Linked DNA regions of Homo sapiens: all the other regions are linked to region 1. The links are contacts of gene promoters, found by promoter capture Hi-C in blood cells and fetal thymus (Javierre and others, 2016). All regions are on one chromosome and are shown on one strand. The core of a region is centred on a gene start or on the middle of the fragment in contact, and the rest is flanking DNA. Distances in the headings are between cores, read along the strand shown. Region 1 holds the start of TLR8 (toll like receptor 8). Region 2 overlaps GEMIN8 (gem nuclear organelle associated protein 8). Region 3 has its middle 10 kb from the start of GEMIN8.

Evidence for each region. The method cuts DNA at HindIII sites, captures the fragments that hold promoters and counts their contacts. A CHiCAGO score of 5 or more calls a contact.
Region 2: a contact is called between a fragment that was not itself captured here and the fragment with the promoter of TLR8 in region 1, in 2 of 17 cell types (naive CD4 T cells and total CD4 T cells). The highest score is 5.5, in naive CD4 T cells.
Region 3: a contact is called between a fragment that was not itself captured here and the fragment with the promoter of TLR8 in region 1, in 1 of 17 cell types (neutrophils). The highest score is 6.6, in neutrophils.

The regions. Positions count from the first base shown.
Region 1 is chrX:12,903,935-12,908,003 of GRCh38, forward strand. TLR8 (toll like receptor 8) reads left to right here and starts at 2,686. Exons shown (of 2, transcript NM_138636.5): 1 at 2,686-2,775. The coding sequence starts at 2,773. It overlaps TLR8-AS1 (TLR8 antisense RNA 1), which reads right to left. Exons shown (of 5, transcript NR_030727.1): 4 at 2,256-2,317; 5 at 1-51. The HindIII fragment of the contact is 3,594 bases long and covers 1-2,801 here.
Region 2 is chrX:14,017,414-14,021,315 of GRCh38, forward strand. It overlaps GEMIN8 (gem nuclear organelle associated protein 8), which reads right to left. Exons shown (of 5, transcript NM_001042479.2): 4 at 2,665-3,121. Among named protein-coding and RNA genes, the nearest start is that of GEMIN8, 11 kb to the right of the region's middle. The HindIII fragment of the contact is 347 bases long and covers 2,445-2,791 here.
Region 3 is chrX:14,038,099-14,042,250 of GRCh38, forward strand. No RefSeq gene overlaps it. Among named protein-coding and RNA genes, the nearest start is that of GEMIN8, 10 kb to the left of the region's middle. The HindIII fragment of the contact is 7,534 bases long and covers 1-4,152 here.

The sequences.
Region 1 (4,069 bases), core at 1,436-3,935:
AGAGTGGTTCTTCAGGCCTACTGTTGGCAACAGCCCAGGAATGTGTGAAGTCTGTAACAACAAGCGTAGTAATAATAATTCCAGCTCTGCTAGTTGAACGCTCACTTTGTGCCAGCTACTTTTCTAAGAGTTCCACGATATGAACAATTTAATCCTCAAAGCCAACATCTGAGAAAGATACTACTATTCTTATCCCAATTTGACAGATGAGAAAACTAAGGCTCAGAGAGGCTTGTCTGCTGGTGATTTGTGTGTCTGGGAAGTGCACGTTGTCTGGCAGGCTTGCCTGGCAGAAGCGGTTCATGACAGGTCTTCTCCATTTTGGAATCAAGATCTGTGTCAGCATGGATGGCAAGGGGAAGAGTAAGGAAAGATTGGTCTAGGAGATGCCCAGGAGCTTTTGGCCTCACAGTGCAGGGTGGGGAGAGCAGACCTGGCCACCAAGGACCAGTTTCTGGGCTTGGGCAGAAGCCAATCATCTGGCTACTTTACAAGCAGATGGAGCTTCTTCCTCTCAGTAACCTTCCTGCCCTGGTGTCAATTCCATTTTCATTTTCATCTTTTATGGTACTGGTTGTGTGGAGAAAACTGAAGGCTCATTTGGTATAAGTAAGTAACTCATTTTTATGAGTTTGCTTGACATAGATACTAGACTGTATGTGTGTATATATACATATAAACATGCATATGTACATAAAAAATATATATATATCATATATACATGATGATACACACACACACACACACACACACACACACACATATATATATATACGTATACAAGCATGCTTTACAAGGCCAATTGACTGGTCTACAATTGGCTGACACTTGGTGGCCTAGAAGCCAGGGTATGTGAGTCTCGCTTTTCTAGAAAGCTGACAAACTCTCCAGTTCCAAGGATCCTTGCTCAGTCAACGGCTGGAAGTCATTTTTACTTCGCTGTTTTTTGTTTGTTTGTTTGTTTGTTTTTTTAGACAAAGTCTCATTCTGTCACCCAGGCTAGAGTGCAGTGGCACTATCATGGCTCACTGCAATCTCCACCTCCTGGGCTCAAGCGATCCTCCCACCTCAGCCACCCGAGTAACTGGGACTACAGGTGCACACCACCATGCCTGGCTAATTTTTGTATTTTTTTAGAGACAAGGTTTTGCCATGTTGCCCGGGTTGGTCTCAAACCCCTGAGCACAAGTGATCCTCCTGCCTCGGCCTCTACAAAGTGCTGGAATTACAGGTGTGAGCCACTGCACTCGATCCATTCTTACTTACTTTCTTTACTTTATTTCCAAGCAAATGTTTGGAGGGAAACCAAGAGACTTGGATGCGGCCAGCCGAGGCCTTTGGGTTTACAATCACAAATGTTTTTGGTTTGCCCATGAAGGCCCAGGCTGCACTCTCTGATGTCACAGGAATCACCTCTCAAACCATGCACCAGGTCTTGAATTCCCTTAGGGTGTGATCTTTAGAGGTCCATCTAGGTATACCCACCCAAGCCATTCTTTGACTGCTGACAGGCCTTCCTTCATAACAAGGTGTTCCACAGTCCATTTATATATGGATGTCATCTCTGCCCACCCTGCTGCCAATTTGGTTTTCTCCCACTCCTGGGGTGTAAGGCAAGATGAAACATATCACATCCCGTTCTAAACTTTATTCTTGTGGCCAGGGGTCAGCAAACTTTTTCTGTAAAGGGCCAGATGGCAAATATCTTAGGTTTTACAGGCCAAGAAGCAAATTTGGCATATTATGTAGCTACTTATATAGTAAAATAAAAATTTCCACAATTATGTAATTGATGAAACTCAAAATGTAATAATAATAATCGAAGGCAGTTTTTTTGTAGTATAGGTTTAATAATGAGAAGAATGGAATCATTTTTGGAGGTGCTAACATTCTGCTTGGTTGGAATTTAAAGTTAGTGTTCTGTATCAGCAAATCCATTGCCAATGTTCATCTAAAAATGTTTTCACTTCTGGGCCGGATTTCGTTCAAAGGCTGCAGTTTGCTGACCTCTGCTCTTGGTTACACCTTTTGAGGCCCTTGCTCTCCGAGCATAAAATGGAATCCATTTATCAGACTAAATCGGGAAGATTAAATTTTCCAGCCTCACGAATGCTCAGCCATTGACTCACTCGTTCATACAATGAACACTCATTGAGCTTATACTACATGCCAGGTGCTGGAGGAGGCATGGGGCGCCCAGGAGAAAGATGCTCGCTTTGCGGCCACAGCCCAGTGGGAGGGAGACCCATACCTACCGGTGCTGTCTCAGAAACTTGTGGAACAAAGATGAAGCAATGTTCATGTTATTCGCCTACATCTGTGAATTACACAAGGAAGACGAGTTTGAGAAATCCGAAGTTCAGTACAAATTTATGGTAACTTTTTTAAAAAAGAATACACTGAAGTTTTCTTAGTGAATGGAATAATGTTCCCTTTTTCTCCCCTGTACACACAAATACACAAAAACTAACAAAAATACGTCGTGTGTGTCTGATTTGGGTTGTATTTAAATCATTTCATAAATGACTTTTTCCCATAACTTCAGTTTCAAAGTTTTAAAGCACAGTCAATTAATGATTTGGCAACAGCTAAGAAATCACAAGTTCCCTTCTTTTCATGTAAACTTCTGTAAAACACACGCTACGTTCTGCTGATGGTAAATAGAGCCATTTCAGGAAGTTAGCCAGTTTCTCTTCTCGGCCACCTCCTGCATAGAGGGTACCATTCTGCGCTGCTGCAAGTTACGGAATGAAAAATTAGAACAACAGAAACATGGTAAGCCACTTCTATTTCTTTAGCAAAGCTTTCCAACAGAATATGGGGTTTCTGACCCAGAAATCTGGGTTGGTGGCAAATGGTGTGAGCCTAGAAAGTAATAAATGGGCAAATAAGGATAAAAATTAAAGATCGAAACAACTGTAAATGCAGGTAAAGCGGCTTGCTATGATCTTTAATTTGTGCACACGTTAGTATAAAGGAATTAGAGAGTAAATTTTGAAAATCAAATGCAGTGATGATCTTACTAATTTGGACAGGAAAATAAGAAAATTTCAAGTTAGAAATTGAACTGGAAATATTACTTACTGGCCCTACCAGAGACAATATCCTCTTCCAGAACAACAGGGTTGGAAGAGAAGGTGAGGGAAATATTCTTCCTTTGCTATTTCTGTAGAAAAGGACAAACTCTCTTCCTTCACATACATAGGTCAATTGCTAGATCCTAGTGAAGCCTGAGCTTAACCTACTGTTGGAGGCTTAAAGTTCGACATTAATTGCTACTTTTCTTGGTCAGAGTTTTAAATAATTAGGTTGGTACAAAAAACTGTGATTACTTTTCCACCAACCTAATAACATGCTACAATTTCTGTAATTATTATTTTACACTGTCAAGACATAGCAGGTGGTCCGTTTTTGTTATTGTCAAGAACTGTCAGACTAAAAATGAACTTTACACTTCTTTTTAAATGATACATTTTCTAGAAAATTCAATGAGGTTTAAGAGCAATTGAAAAGTCTGATTTCAAGAGAGTCTCATCCAAAATGTACTATATATTTTTCCCCAAAGTCCTTGGAGTTAATTTTGACAACAATTTAAAGTACACTTAAGTCTTTTGAAGTTAATGGGTCTGCCACCCAGGTTGGAGTGCAGTGGCGTGATCTCAGCTCACTGCAACCTCCGCCTCCCGGGTTCAAGCGATTCTCCTGCCTCAACCTCCCAAGTAGCTGGGACTACAGGTGTGTGCCACCACGCCTGGCTAATTTTTGTATTTTTAGTAGAGACGGGGTTTCTCCATGTTGGCCAGGCTGGTCTCGAACTCCTGACCTCAGGTGATCCGCCTGTCTCAGCCTCCCAAAGTGCTGGGATTACAGGCATGAGCCACCGCGCCCGGCCTGAAGTTAATTTTTATACCCACCTAATGTTCATTATGGATCTTGAAGGTAAATTAATTCTGCACTAAAATTTTACAATGCTTTACAAAATGACTGTAGGTGGCCCATATGGAATTCGGTCAACTGGGCCAATGACACATATGGGATTGCAGTTGAAATTATCCAATTCCTACTTGAT
Region 2 (3,902 bases), core at 1,368-3,867, 1.1 Mb after region 1:
ACAAGAACTGTGGGTTTACTTTATGTCCCAGTCACAGATTGCATTTGGGGACAAAGAAAATTCTCCCAGGGTGATTGTACTCCTTTCCTAGGGCTGCCATAACAAAGTACCATATACTGGGTGGTTTAAAACAACAGAAATGTATTGTCTCATGGCTCTGGAGGTCAGAAGTCTGCAATCGAGGTGTTGGCAGGGCCATAAACCCTCTAAAGGTGCTAGGGAAGGATCTGTTCCAGGCCTCTCCCACCTTCTGGATGTTCCTTGGATTGTGGCGACATAATGTCAATCTTCACATGGTGTTTTCACTGCATGTGTGTCTGTCTCTGTGTCCGGATTTTGCCCTTTTTATAAGGACCTGAGTCACATAGGATTAGGATCCCTGTAATGACCTCACTTAACCTCAATTACCTCTGGAAAGACCCTGTCTTTAAATAAGGTCACATTCTGAGGAACTGGGGGTTAGGATTCCACTGTATCTTTCTTGGGGAGATACAATTCAACCCAGATGATGAAAGTGCAATTTGGAGCCGTAAAGTAACTAGACAGATTTGGAAATAATATGAAACACAGAGATGAAGCTTATCAAGTTTATAATGCACACAAGGCCTAGCTCATTCTGTAAAATGTCCCACAGAATCACTGCAAGTGTAGCACTCTATGGGTAAGATTTGCCAACCTCTGATTTAAGGCTTCTAATTCACACTGAAAGACTTCATTTATTCACTCAAAATAATATTAAGTGGCAAGTATGACTTAGCAGGTAATTTTCATGATTTTGTTTACCTACCTAGAGTTCTACCTAACAATGGCAAGAGGGAGGAATAGGGATGGTTGTTAACAATATCTGTAACTGAACCGTTCACATTTTTTCTTTGGTGCAAGGACACATTTCATTGTTTTATCTTTATTTTATTCATATCCACTTTTTATTGACTAACTCAAGTTTATTTTAAACCAGCAGATAATTCAAAGTCACCTTTGAGATGACTGGGATTTGCTTCCATCCATAATTACAATTTCCATCATAAAAGTATCAACCTCTAGTGGGCAAAACATGTTATTCTACTTTCTGGTAAGGACAAGAGTAATAAACTCGATCTCCATCCCATTTTCTCTGTCAAAAGCTGTAACAAACAGCATTCCAACCCAAACATGGACATGCTCCAATGCTTCTCATTTGTTGTATATATTAGACTAATGGTTGTTTCGTATCTATATTTTTAAAAAGGGTAAAATTTATTTCTGGAGATCAAGCAAAAGTATTCTGTGTGTAATAGAAAGTACTGTCTTAAAAGTATTTGTTTGGATATACTTCTTTCTTTCTTTTCTTTTTCTTTTCTTTCTTTTCTTTTCTTTTTTTTTTTTTTTTTGAGCCAGGGTCTCGCTCTGTCACCCAGGCTGGAGTACAGTGGTGTGATCGTGGCTCACTGCAGCCTCAAACTCCTGGGCTCAAGCCATCCTCCCGAGTTGCTGGGACTACAGGTGTGAGCCACCACACCTGGCTGGATATACTTTCTAATATGCTTAAAGAAGTACACAGTTTAAACAAAAGAAAGGAAGTCAAAAAAATCTGAACAAGTAGTTTAGTGAAGAATCACGGACGAAGATACTAAAGGATATAATATTTTATACAAAGCCCAGTGCTCAGTTCTTGGCATCCAGTGGGGATCAATAAAAGCTAATTCATCATTAGGAAAATGCTGACAATGACAGACAGGAATGAAACTCCCATTCCCAGGTTTCTACGCTTCTGTGTCATTGGAAAATTGTAGGTAAAATGTCATACAATTAGGCCTCACTTAAAACAAAATTGAGAATGAATACTGGTTATAATAGGGAAAGAAGCATTTGTATCTCAGTTAGAGGTACTTAGAAATGGTCTGGTGAATTTTAATAGGAGAGCACAAAAGCTGTTCTAGTTCTTTCTAGTAAGGTGGTAAGAAATTTAAAAAGAAAATTCCTGTTTTTGACTGAAGATATAAGACCTTTATCATAATTCTCTGACCCCATGGACAGGGCCTCAATGCAGAACCAACAGGAAAGTTGTAAGTGCCAGGCATTTCGTTACTCTGTTTAGGTTCATGCTATTTAAGATTTGGGACCTCTAGCACCAAGGACATCTCCAAGATGTGTCCCAGAGGAATGGCAAAAGTATTTTAGGAACCTAGCAGTCTCAGGGACAAGTCCTAGTATACAGAAAGCAGTACAGGAAGTAGAGGTAGGCAGATTTGGTTTGGATCCTAACAGCAAATTACTAGTTGTGTACCACGGAACAAGTCAATTAACCTTTTTAAGGTTCACTTTCCTCATATATAAAATGAGTTTAATACTCTGAGGGACTGCTGTGTAGATCAGAGCACGCACACACACAAGCATGCATGCATACACACTCCATTTGGTAGAGTGTCTAATGGTTAATAAATAGTAGAACTACTATTAGGATAAGCTTTGTTCTGGAACAAAAAAATGTCTTATACTAAAACAACTCCAGAAACTAACATAAGCAAGGTACAGCATCCCCATAGCTTTTCCAGGCTTAGGACTGGATTTGGAATATTACCCTAGCCAATGAAGAATTATAAAATTACTTTATATATTAGAGAAAAAAAATGTAAAAGGCAGGGCAAGGAAAGGAAGCATGAAGAGACAGAGGCCTGAACTTACGTCGTTCTTCTCTATGCCTCTCGGTCTCTGCAAAGTACTGGCGGAGCTCTTCAGTGATTTCCATATTGCTCAGGTCACATTCTACCTCTGCATCTGACTCAGTCTCCATCTCTTCCTCTTTGGACAAAGCTTGGTCTTCTTTTGTGGATGCCTGGATCCTACTGCTGTAACGTGGATGCTGCCCAGATCTTCTGAAATGTGAAGAACTGCAGGGGTAGTCCTGCCAGGCCACATGATGGTCATAGAAGGACTGAGGATACGCAGCCTCATTATCGTAAGAGCTTTGGGGAAGAAGCGCAGAAGGTAAGTACCATGGAAGATTGAAACAGGATTCCACGGCCTTCCTGTAGGCATTGTGATGGCTTTGCATCCAAGCCATTGCTTGATGATAATGTTGCCAGTATCTTGCATATACCGGATGAGAATACCAAGGCCTGGTAGCTTTCGATGTTGATGCCTACAAAATGAAAGGAGGTGGAGGGTGGACACCAAAGTGTTTATTATCCTCAAGAGAAATCTTCAAATGTTTAATCTGCTACCCAACAGGTATTTACTTAGTATTTGCTAAATACCTACCTACATGAGGAGGCTACTGGGCCCAAAATATTGTGTGAGATAGGTCCAGGCCCACAGTGGACACCAAGTGTATGCACACTTGCTAAGTCCATGTACATAAGGTATGCACAAGCCAGCCAATTAAAGCTATGGAGCATTATAATGTGGGGATGAAGGCTAGTGATCGTTTCTAGATGAGACGCAGGGAGAGAGAAGACTGGATGTTTATCACCTTAGCCCTCTCTACCCACTGTAATTAAATGACTACTGCCAACTGAGCAACGGCCTGCTAAGAACCACACTAGACTGACAAGCATGACAGACTTTAGTTTTTCCCTTTCTGCCCCCTAAACTAACTTGCTGGCCTGAGCCACCCCTAAATGCCTGGGGTAAGAGATGTCTAGGAATGCACCCAATAGTGCTTTTACTTTTGTATTTCTTAGGTCTTCTCCATCGTGCAATGAGAATACCAAACTTTAAAGACTAAAATTTACCAGCAAACTATCGCAAGGACAAAAAACCAAACTCCGCATGTTCTCACTCACAGGTGGGAATTGAACAATGAGAACACATGGACACAGGAAGGGGAACATCACACACCAGGGACTGTTGTGGGGTGGGGGGAGGGGGGAGGGATAGCATTAGGAGATATACCTAATGTTAAATGACGAGTTAATGGGTGC
Region 3 (4,152 bases), core at 508-3,007, 1.1 Mb after region 1:
GTGATTATCCTAAGTGAACTAATGCAGGAATGGAAAACCAAATATCACATGTTCTCACTTATAAGTGAGAGCTAAACATTGGACACACATGGACATAAAGATGGGAACAATAGACACCAGGGAATACAAGAGGAGGGAGACATGGAGGGAAGAAAGGATTGAAATACTACCTGTTAGGTACTATGCTCACTTCCTGGGTGATGGTTTCAATTGTACTGCAAACCTCAGCATCATGCAATACACATTTGTAACAAACCTGCGTGTGTACCCCCAAATCTAAAACAAAAGTTGAAAAACAAAACCAAAACACCCCCCCCCAAAAAAAAGAATGACCTCAGACCAACACCTATGAAAGGGAAAGGAAAGCACGAGATTGGATAGAACAGGGTTTTTCAACTGTGGCATAGAGACATTTCAGACTAGGTGTAACACTTTGTTGTGGGGCTGTCCTGTGCACTATGGGATGCATAGCAGTATCCCTGGGCTCTACCCACTAGATGCCAGTAGCACACATACACACCTCCCTCCCCTTCAGTTGTGATGACCAAAAGTGTTTTCAGACATTGCAAAATATGCTGGTGGTGGGGAAGGAGGGGATAGCAAATTGCCCTCAGTTGAAAACCACTGGGGTAGAGAGAAGGGCTGAGCTTGAATGTGTGCCTAACAACTGTGGTAAACCCCAGGGGATTTAGGGAGCCAGAATGGCCCTTCTGAGTTGTAGAAAGTTGGGCTGATATGGTGGGCACTTTTTTCTCCAGCATGGATCAGTCATTGGATGTGGGCTCCTGAAAAGGGGTGTGACATTGCGTAAGGAGGCTCTCTGTGACTGGAGCCGCAAGTTCCTCATTGAAGGGGAATCTGGAACATCCCAGTGTTCATGGCATGTGCTACTCTGCAGTTGTTCATTTACTTCTCACCATTTTCCATTTAATAATAAAATTCTTGAGAATTGAGACCACATATTATTTTGTTGTGTATCATTGAAATCCAGTATGCTACATGGGAATAAATATTTTTAAATAATGAAACGAAATGAGACAATAATTGGGTGGATATTTGTAAACTTAAATATGATAATAAATGGTTTCATTATGCATTTTATTGAGATATGAGAAACTTTCAAGAGATTTATCCATATTTATATTTAGTTATGAGTTCTTTTTTGAGAAGTAACAATTTACTCAGCTGACAGCACTAAACAGTACTGAGCTAATCTTTAACAATGTTTTGATTTCTGTAAATGAGATTATCAGTAATTTAAAAAGAGGATTAGGAAGTTTGTGTGGGATAGAACCAACTAATTGCTGAAATATACACAGAATTCAAGTATTGAAAAGTTTTACTTTAAAAAGATGTGATTATAAAGCATTGTTTCCTATGTATAGCCCTGTAAAATAATACCCATGTGCATCCGGCAGAGGGCACAATTGTACAAAGTATTGGAGAAATGCTTTTAAAAGGAAGTGCATTAATCTCTCAGTCATAGGCTGTAGTGACACATGTCAGTCACATGTAAATGACTCTATACATCTAAAATTCAATAGTGTATTGTTTTTAGATGATATTTCACTACTGCGTTTCCAGCTCTATTCTTTCACATTGTTTTTAAAGTTACTACATCTTCAACAAAATCCGAATTAGGTTAAAATTAATCTCTAAATAATTTTCATTTCAACTGGCTAAAATAATTTGAGGCCAACAATGTGTAAGGCTTTTTTAGAGCATAATTTTACGTATGTTATGTTTTCTGTCCTCACAAGATATTTTATGGGTCATTGACATAGAAGCACAACTACATATACTGTGCAGAATCACCCTTCTACATTAAGAAAAAAAATCAGGTCCTGTCCCTGTATACTGTCAGATTTTTCTTGGCATGGATCTTGTACATGATGAGCTTGCACGGTGAAATGGATGAATCCCTGTCCGAGGGATGGAAGGTCTGTCTTTGTCCCTTCCTGGTTGTGTCACTACTTCTCAGAGCCTGCCTATCTTCATCTGTTAGTAGAGGAACAATGATGCCCACGGGGCCCTCTTCACACATGGGTGTTGTGAGTTCATGGTTTAAGAGCCATGATATCCACTCATTAGATGCATGTGCCATAGGACAGGAGTAACTGAGTAACTGAAGCAACAGCAGGCGTCAAGAAGTGTCCACTGGACGGTGGTCAGATTCTCTAGTTTTCCCTCTGCTAAGAGTTTGACTGAATGAATCTCTGGGTTCTTGGGCAATTCAGGGAAGTGGGGGAGAGTCAAGTGAGGAGTTAAATTTCTGCTAATCTGGGGAGGAGGGCTTTGACTGGTATTACAACCTCATTTTCACCACAACCTCGTAAAGCAAGTCACTGTTCAAATACATTTCTTAATTTAGATATATTTCTAATTTCACTTTGGTGAATTTATTGTTTGATAGTAATCCAAAACTACACAAGGACAGAATAGCTGTATATGTGAAGGTGTTTATTGCAGTATTGTTTATTGATAATTGGTAAAATTGAAAGCAATTTAGGAACATGGACTATTAGGCAGCCATCAAAATGAAAATTATGAATATTATATAGGCACATGGAAAGTATGTGATGAATGATAAGTCAAGTCAAAGCAAAATAAATCATATATTATGCTAATAGCTATGTAAAAGTTGAGAATATATGTGGTTGGGGAACAATGGCAAGAAAGATGGAATGGTAATAACTTCTAACCTGTCCAGGAGTTAGTAGCAGTCTTTGTGTGTGTGTCTCTCTCTTTCCCTCCTAAATCACATTATTGCGGTTATAGTATATTTGTAGAATGAGACACTTCTAAAGAGATTTTTCGTGCTTTGTTTGAAATACAGTAATGCCCAATTTGTCCAGTCTGTTAGGAAAGAAGTGGCCTATTTAAATGACTTATGAATCTTCTTTTCCCCATTAACTGATGTTTACTCCTCTAAACACAAAAACAACAACAACAAAACCATTTTGACTAGAAATCTTTCTAAAATCTATTGTGTACTTTCCTGTCTTCTCCAACAGTTTCCTGAGCACATTTTATTCTTGTCTTTATATCTCAGGCTTACCATGATGAATGTCAATTTCTCTCCCACACTAGAATGCAATGAGCAATACAAATATAGGGTTATTTGCCTCTACATGGCATGATCAAATCTCTTTTGAGTTTTGATTCCTTGGTTCTTATTTTTACATGTTTTCTTTTTTTGTTGTTTGTTCTTTTTCTCACTTTTAGTCTATCAGGTGTCATTTTAATGATTGTCAGTGTTCCAGCCTTTGGCAACCTATCCTTCCTAACCTGCCAACAAATTTGCTGCTTCTAACATGCCTTGTTAGGAAAATCACACAAACGAATTGACTAGAATTATGTGCAGAGAGCTCCAAAAGGTGTTCCATCTTATGTAAGTGTTTGGACAGTGGAGACATGGTGATACCTGTTTTGGTTGTTCAGAGATATTTTGCTTACTTCTCAGCTCTTGGCTGTTTTCTGGATGCGTTGAGGTCTCAGGGAGATGGCCTGTGTACAACAGACATGTTGCTTCAGGGAAAATAGAATACTGACTCACAGAAACAAAGCATAGTAGTCATAAATCCAGTTAACACCAACAAATCAATGGAAACTGAAAGCAGAGTCAAGAAATCAATAGTTATAAAAAAAAAACCCACACTTGGATTTGCTCCATTCTGTTTCCATGACACTTCATCCATTCCATTCATAGACTTCATCCTGGGACAAATTTACCTCCAGTTGAGAAAGAAGCAATGGAATGAGGAAAAGAAGAAATGATAAAAGATAAATTAGAGAATCATAATTTATGGAATTCAAGGATCTTTTCCTTCAGCCAATCAATAAATAGCCCATATTTCAAATATATAAGACATATTTTGAATGTGTAAAGCAGGTTGCTAGGTGCTGTGGAGACTCAAAAGAAGGATGTATTTATGCTCCCTACCCTCACTCATTTTTAATTAAAAAAATTTTTTTGAGATAGAGTCTTGCTGTGTCACCCAGGCTGGAGTGTAGTGGCATGATTACGGCTCACTGCAGCCTCGAACTCCTAGGGTCAAGTGATCCTCCCACCTCAGCCTCCCAAGTAGCTGGGACCACAGGCATACACCACTACGCCCAGCTAATTTTTGCATTTTTGGTAGAGATGAGTTT